Linked DNA regions of Homo sapiens: region 2 is linked to region 1. The links are contacts of gene promoters, found by promoter capture Hi-C in human tissues and cell types (Jung and others, 2019). All regions are on one chromosome and are shown on one strand. Each heading gives the region's core, a stretch centred on a gene start or on the middle of the fragment in contact. The rest is flanking DNA. Distances are from core to core; before and after follow the strand shown. Region 1 holds the start of RANBP10 (RAN binding protein 10). Region 2 overlaps NFATC3 (nuclear factor of activated T cells 3).

Region 1 (3,736 bases), core at 875-3,374:
CTATTGCCCAGGCTAGAGTGCAGTGGTGCAATCTCAGCTCACTACAACCTCCACCTCCCATGTTCAAGTGATTTTCATGCCTCAGCCTCCCAAGTAGCTGGGATTACAGGTGCACACCACCACACCCAGCTAATTTTTGAATTTTTTTTTAGAGATGGGGTTTTACCATGCTGGCCAGGCTGGTCTTGAACTCCTGATCTCAAGTGATCCGCCCGCCTCGGTCTTCTGAAGTGATAGGATTACAGGTATGCCAGTTAATTTTTTTGTATTTTTAGTAGAGACAGGGTTTCAGCATGTTTGCCAGGCTAGTCTCCAACTCCTGACCTCAGGTGATCTGCCCATCTTAGCCTCCCAAATTGCTGGGATTACAGGCGTGAGCCACCGTGCCTGGCTCCTAATGCTGACTTTAATGAGGACCTTCCTAAAGTTGATCCAACTAGTAGTGTTCAAGTCCTTGGACTGAAAAACAAGTTTATGAGCAGCAAGGTCACCTGATTCTGATCATGTGTATGCTGTTTACCCTGAGATGACAGGCCGGTGGCCACAGAAGCTTTCATGAATGCTGCAAAGACTCTACTATCTCTTTGAAGGCTACCAGGGCCTCCACATGACTAAATGCCATAAAAAAGAACCTCATGAATACAGCAAGAATGTGAAAGGAAGGAAGTCACAAAAACACCACATGCTCATGAGGGAAACTCCATTCTGGACACTAAATTTTTAAAGTAAACTTGTTACTTGTTTGCCTAACCTTCTAGGTATCAAATTACATCATCACTAAAAATAATCCCTGCTTTACCCCCAACACACCCACTGGCCATCAAGATCTGCTGCTTAGACCAGACCATGCCCACAGTCAGGAAATAATGGCAGCCCAGACCCATGCGGCTCCCCAGCTCACATCAGCAACAAGTGCCAGCCAAAGGACCTGAACTCTGACCACAGGGATCAGCTCCATGATCAGGGAAAGAGGGTGGTCATGAAGGGCTTACCCATCTCTTCCTTTGCTGACAATCTTCACTTCAAAGTAATAAATGCCACAGGCAGCAGGTATGGGGTGGGTGGCACGCACTGAGGCCGCATCTTTGTGATTTTTGCCATGACCTAACAGGAGAGGGCAAGTAAGAAATTTCAGCAGAAGGAAATGCAAATGGAAGCCTCATTTTTCTCTGCAACTCCTCCATGACAACTCCACTCCTCTGTGGCCAGAGGACGCACTTACACAGGCCGAGGAATCATTAGACAACTGAATAAACACTTAAACCTTCCACCTTTGCCTCACCTCCTCCTGAGAACAGCAGTCCTGCCTGAGACACTGCCCATACAAACAAAACAAGGGTAGAGGCAATGTGAGAGATACTCAAGTGCTGCTGGCAGCCTCTCTAGAATCCAGGCAGCCCACCTGGGAGGCCAGGGGAAGAAGGATGAGGCCGACCTGGAAGACACCCCCCAAACTCTAGCACGGAACCCCAGGCTCAGTCTAGGATGCCTGGCAGGTGGGGAAGCCCATGAGTCTCACGCTAATGGTAGGTATGTGACCACCCCTTTCTTCTAAGCAGTGGCGAAAGGTCCCGCTGCCGTTGGCGCCAGCCTAGGATAAGCACGGAGGCCCTGGAGTGGAAGGTCCGGCCCAGCACTGGGTTTGGACACCTGTTGCGGTTCTCTTGACGGCAGGTGTCTCAGGACAGAGAACAGGCAGTCAGCCCTCGGCCTGTTCAGCCTCACCACCCTGGACATCCTGAAAGGGCCAAGCCCTAACTTGGAGCACCTAGGCAGGGAAAGGGAGGTGATAGGGCGGGGGCCTGGCAGCAGAGCCACCCCACGGACGCTCTAGCCTTAATTCCCCCCAGCCTGACGGGCCGATACCTTTGTAGTGGACGCGGAGGTTGCCCTGGGAGAGACCAATGTAGTTGTATTTGTCCTTGGGGCTCCAGGAGCGCGGCAGCGGAGTCTCTTGCTGGTTGACCGCGGGATACAGGCGCTGCAAGCGCCGGCTCAGCTCCTGCTCCCCAGGGGACGGCAGCCCGCCCCCAGCGCCCCCGCCGGAGGAGTCCCCAGGCTGCGGGTTCCCAGCTCCCGGGTCTGCCGTCGCTGCCGCCATCTTGGAGGGAGCTACTATTGTGTCACTGGGGGCGGGGAGGAGCGGGACCAGATCCGCCCCGCTCAGCCAATGGCCCGTGAGCCTCCCTGGGCCGCAGGGAAACCGAGTCCGAGTCCGGCACCCCTCTTTGGACACTGACACGCCTTACCACATTTCGAACTCCATACCCCACAATGCAGAGCTCTCGAGAGGCGGAGCAACTCGGGCTGGTAGAGAATTCTGGGAGATGTAGTATAACCGTCCTCAGCCATAAGCCTGTCCCATCGAGACGTCGGGACACCGAAAACTACCATTCCCGCCGGCAAAGCGGCTCCGGCCTCTCAGCACACTTCCCTCCCCATGGCCTCTGTTCATCCCCCTGCCTCAGTTCTGGTACCTGGGGTCAAATCGGCTGTAGTGGTTGACTCTCAGGGCACCCGCTGCCGGGTCCCAGTCCACCTTTGCTACTTTGTCCTACTCCCAGCCCGCGGGCGCTAGGCTCGGGGGCGTGGCGCATCCCTGACTCCGCCCCCGCCGCGGGGGGGCCTCTGGGGCCTGGTCGCCATGGCGACCGGCTGTACGCTACCACAGCTTCCCAGGCCGCGGGTGCTGATTGCCCGCCTGCCCGTGGGTCATGGCCTGCCAGCAGTCGCGGTACCACAGCTTCTCGTCCGCGTCGAGGTAGGCGCTGGCAGGGATGAGGGCAGAGATGAGGGTTTGAGTACTTCTAGAGAGGGAAATGGCACTTGATCCGGACCTCTGCACCTCCTGCTGGCCTCTGACCATTGATCTAGGGCTCCAGCACCACAGAGTCAATGGTTAGAATCGGGCTGATTTAGCCCAGTGAAGACGTTACGTGCTAGCAAAACGGTAGGCGCACTTTATCATTACTAGTAACAACCAGCTTGTATTGAATGTACTATATGCCAAATGCTTTATATACCACATTTTTAAATATTTTATTTTTGAGACAAGATCTCGTTCTGTCGCCCAGGCTGGAGTGCAGTGGCACTACTACGGCTCACTGCAGCCTCGACCTCCCGGGCTCAAGCGATCCTTCTACCTCAGCCTCCCGAGTAGCTGGGACTACAGGCATGCGCCACTACGCTTGGCTAATTTTTGGGTGTTTCTTTGTTCGTTTGTTTTTTGTAGAGACGAGGTTTCACCACGTTGCCCAGGCTGGTTTCGAACTCCTAGACTCAAGCGACCCTCCCACTTCGACCTCTCAAACTGGGATTACAAGCGTGAACCCCCACACCCGGCCTACGTACCATATTTAATCCTCACAACAACTGTATAAAGTAGTAATATTACCATTGAACAAGTAAAGAAATACTTTAGAAGCCTGGAGAGATCATCCTCTGGGTAGCTTCTGCCTGTACTCAGGTGTATAGCCTCTGGGTACTGCAAAATATGACCAGCTCCATCAGCCTGGAGAGCCATACATACGGATTAAAACAAAAATTTTGGCTAAATCGTTTTCTAGTTTTGGGACTTCAGACAGGGCCCTTCAAGTTCCAGGCCTCAGCTTATATATCTCAAACATGGGAATGATACAGCCCACCCCACAAACATTGTTGGGAACATTTAGGCAGAATATGTGAAGCTCTTGACACAGCTCTTGTATGTAATAGGCACCCAGTAAGTGTTGAATGA
Region 2 (3,736 bases), core at 340-2,839, 310 kb after region 1:
ATCTTGGTTATGTCTTGTCTTCTGCTAGATTTGGGGTTTGTTTACTCTTGGTTCTCTAGTCTTTTAGTTGTGATATTAGGATGTCGATTTGAGTTTTTTCTGGCTTTTTGATGTGGGCATTTAGTGCTATAAATTTCCCTCTTAACACTGCTTTAGCTATATCCCAGAGATTCTGGTACATTGTCTCTTTGTTCTCATTGGTTTCAAATAACTTCTTGATTTCTGCCTTAATTTCATTTTTTACCCAGAAGTCATTCAGGGGCAGGTTGTTCAATTTCCATGTAGTTGTGTGGGTTTGAGTGAGTTTCTTAATGTTGAGTTCTAATTTGATTGCGCTGTGGTCTGAGAGACAGTTATGATTTCATTTCTTTTGCATTTGCTGAGGAGTGTTTTACTTCCAAGTATGTGATCGAATCTAGAGTAAGTGCCATGTGGCACTGAGAAGAATGTATATTCTGTTTTTGGGTAAGTCTACTTGATCACAGCTGAACTCAAGTCCTGAATATCTTTGTTAATTTTTTGTCTCGATGATCTGTCTGATATTGACAGTGGGGTGTTAAGTCTCCCACTATTGTTGTGTGGGAGTCTAAGTCTCTTTGTAGGTTTCTAAAAACTTGTTTTATGAAACTGAGTGTGCCTGTATTGGGTGCATATATATTTAGGATAGTTAGCTCTTCTTGTTGAATTGAACCCTTTACCATGCTGTATGCCCTTCTTTGTCTTTTTTTGATCTTGTTGGTTTAAAATCTGTTTTGTCAGAAACTAGGATTGCAACCCCTGCTTTTTTCCTGCCTTCCATTTGCTTTGTAAATTTTCCTCCATCTCTTTATTTTGAGCCTGTGCATGTCTTTGCATGTTAGATGGGTCTCTTGAATACAGCACACCAATGGTTCTTGTCTTTTTAGCCAGCTAACCATTTTGTGTATTTTAATTGGGGTATTTAGTCCATTTACTTTTAAGGTTAATATTGTTATGTGTGAATTTGGTCCTGTCATCATAATGCTGGCTGGTTATTTTGCAGACGTGTTAATGTAGTTGCTTCATAGTGTCATTCGTCTGTGTACTTGAGTGTGTTTTTGTAGTGGCTGATAATGGTTTTTGCTTTCCATATTTAGTGCTTCCTTCAGGAATTCTTGTAAAGCAGACCTGGTGGTGCTGAATTCCCTCATTATTTGCTTGTCTGAAAAGGACTTTATTTCTCTTTCACTTACGAAGCTTAATTTGTCCGGATATGACATTTGGGTTGGAAATTCTTTTCTAAGAATGTTGAATATTGGCATCCAATCTCTTCTGGCTTGTAGGGTTTCTGCTGAGAGGTCCACTGTTAGTTTGATGGGCTTACCTTTGTGGTGATCTGTCCTCTCTCCCTGCGCTTAACATTTTTTCCTTCATTTCAACCTTGGAGAATCTGATGATAATGTGTTTTGGGATTGATCTTCTCATGGAGTATCTTACTGGGTTTCTCTGAATTTCCTGAATTTGAATGGTGGCCTATCTTGCTAGGTTGGGGAAGTTCTCATGGATGATACCGTGAAGTATGTTTTCCGACTTGGATGCGATCTCCCCGTCTCTTTCAGGTACCCCAGTTGTAGGTTCAGTCTTTTTTTTTTTTTTTTTTTTTTTTTTTGAGATGGAGTCTTGCTGTGTTGCCCAGGCTGGAGTGCAGTGGCGTGATCTTGGCTTACTGCAACCTCCACCTCCTGGGTTCAAGCGATCCTTCTGCCTCAGCCGCCCGAGTAGCTGGGACTACAGGCACACACCACCACGCCTGGCTGATTTTTGTATTTTTAGTAGAGATGGGGTTTCACCATCTTGACCAGGCTGGTCTTGAACTCCTGGTCTCGTGATCCACCCGCCTCGGCCTCCCAAAGTGCTGGGATTATAGGCGTGAGCCACTGTGCCCAGCCAGGTTCATTCTTTTAAATAATCCCATAGTTCTTGGAGGTTTTGTTCATTTCTTTTCATTTTTTCTTTTTCGTTTTTTTTTTTTTTTTTTTTTTTGAGACGGAGTCTCGCTCTGTCGCCCAGGCCGGACTGCGGACTGCAGTGGCGCAATCTCGGCTCACTGCAAGCTCCGCTTCCTGGGTTCACGCCATTCTCCTGCCTCAGCCTCCCGACATTTTTTTTTTTTCTCTAACCTTGTTTGCCCGTCTTATTTTAGCAAGATAGTCTTCAAGCTCTGATATCCTTTCCTCTGCCTGGTCTGTTCAGCTGTTGATACTTGTGGTTGTATTGTGAAGCTCTCCTGTTGTGTTTTTCAGCTCAATCAGGTCATTTATGTTCCTCTGTATACTAGCCATTCTGGTTAACAGCTCCTGTAATGTTTTATCATGGTTTTTCGCTTCTTTGCCTTGGGTTAAAACATACTCCTTTAGCTCAGCGAAGTTTGTTATTACCTACCTTTTGAAGCCTACTTCTGTCAATTCATTCTTCTCTGCCTCAGCCCAGTTCTCTGCCCTTGATGGAGAAGTGTTGCAATCATTTAGAGAAGAGACACTCTGGCTCTTTGAGATTTCAGCGTTCTTGCATTGATTCTTTCTCATCTTTGTGGATTTATCTGCCTTTGATCTTTGAGGCTGCTGACCTTTGGATAGGGTTTTTGTGGGATCTTTTGTGTTGATGTTGTTGTTGTTGCTTTCTGTTTGTTTTTCTTTTAATAGTAAGGCCCCTCTTCCATAGGGTAGGGCTGCTGCAGTTTACTAGGGGACCACTCCTGACCTAATTCATCTACCCCCTCCTGCACCTGGAGGTATAAGCAGTGGAGGCTGCAGAACAGCAAAGATGGCTGCCTCCTCCTCTGGGAGCTTCATCCCAGAAGGCACGGAGCTGATGCTGGCTGGAACGCTCCTGTATCAGGTGCCTGGTGACCCCAGTTGGGAGGTCTCACCCAGTCAGGAGGGATGGGATCAGGAACCTGCTTAAAGAAGCAGTCTGACTGCCCCTTGGCTGAGCAGGTTCGGCTGTGCTGGGGAGAATTCCCCTCATCTGGACTGCCAACAGGCAGGAAAGACTAGGTCAGCTGAACCATGAGACCATGACCACCCCTACCCGTAGAGGCTCCTTCCCAGGGATATCAGAGTTCTGTCCATAAACTCCTGGCTAGAGTTACTGCAGTTCCTGCAAGGAGGTTCTGCCTGGTGAAGAGAGAAGGATCTGGGTCCCACCTAAGGAAACAATCTGGCCACGATCTGCCACCGCCACTGTGTTGTGCTGTGGGGAATTCCTCTTCGTCCAAACCGCCAAGTTTCCCCAACACCAGCAAAGGAAAATGGCAGACTGGAGCCGCAGTGATGGCGACTGCCCCTTTCCGTGGGAACTTGGTAGTCTTAGGCAGTGTCCAGCCTGCTGCTGCTAGCCACAACCTGAGCAGGTTGCACAGCTCTGTGCTTGGGTCCCAAGGCCTTGGTGGCGTGGGCTCATGAGGGGATTTCCTGATCCATGGGATGTACAGATCTGTGGAAAAAGTCTGGTTTCCCGCGCAGGGTAGCACAGTTACTCACCACCTCCCTTGGCTGGGTGTGGGAGTTCGCCTTTGTGGCTACCAGGTCAGGTTGTCGCTCTACCCTGCTTTTCCTAGCTCTGTGTGGATCACACCAACCACCTAGTCAGTCCCAGTGAGAGAACCTGGATACCTCAGTTGACGGAGCAGGATTCACTGGCCGTTTTTGCTCCTCTTAGTGGGAGCCGCAGACTGGAGTGGCTTCTAATCAGCCATCTTGGCTCCTCCTGCCTAAAC

What was found. Contacts are between HindIII fragments. The study calls those that stand out against the background at their distance.
Region 2: a fragment that was not itself captured here is called in contact with the fragment with the promoter of RANBP10 in region 1 in 1 of the 25 tissues and cell types used here (IMR-90 fibroblasts).

Annotation. Positions count from the first base shown.
Region 1 is chr16:67,804,436-67,808,171 of GRCh38, forward strand. RANBP10 (RAN binding protein 10) reads right to left here and starts at 2,125. Exons shown (of 14, transcript NM_020850.3): 1 at 1,867-2,125; 2 at 993-1,104. The coding sequence starts at 2,101. It overlaps TSNAXIP1 (translin associated factor X interacting protein 1), which reads left to right and starts at 2,454. Exons shown (of 16, transcript NM_001288990.3): 1 at 2,454-2,761. The coding sequence starts at 2,715. RefSeq lists enhancers at 1,248-1,868, 1,869-2,488, 2,194-2,423 and silencers at 1,844-2,063, 2,564-2,683. The HindIII fragment of the contact is 11,094 bases long and covers 1-3,736 here.
Region 2 is chr16:68,110,669-68,114,404 of GRCh38, forward strand. The region is part of intron 1 of NFATC3 (nuclear factor of activated T cells 3); the gene reads left to right. Among named protein-coding and RNA genes, the nearest start is that of NFATC3, 27 kb to the left of the region's middle. The HindIII fragment of the contact is 6,107 bases long and covers 1-3,736 here.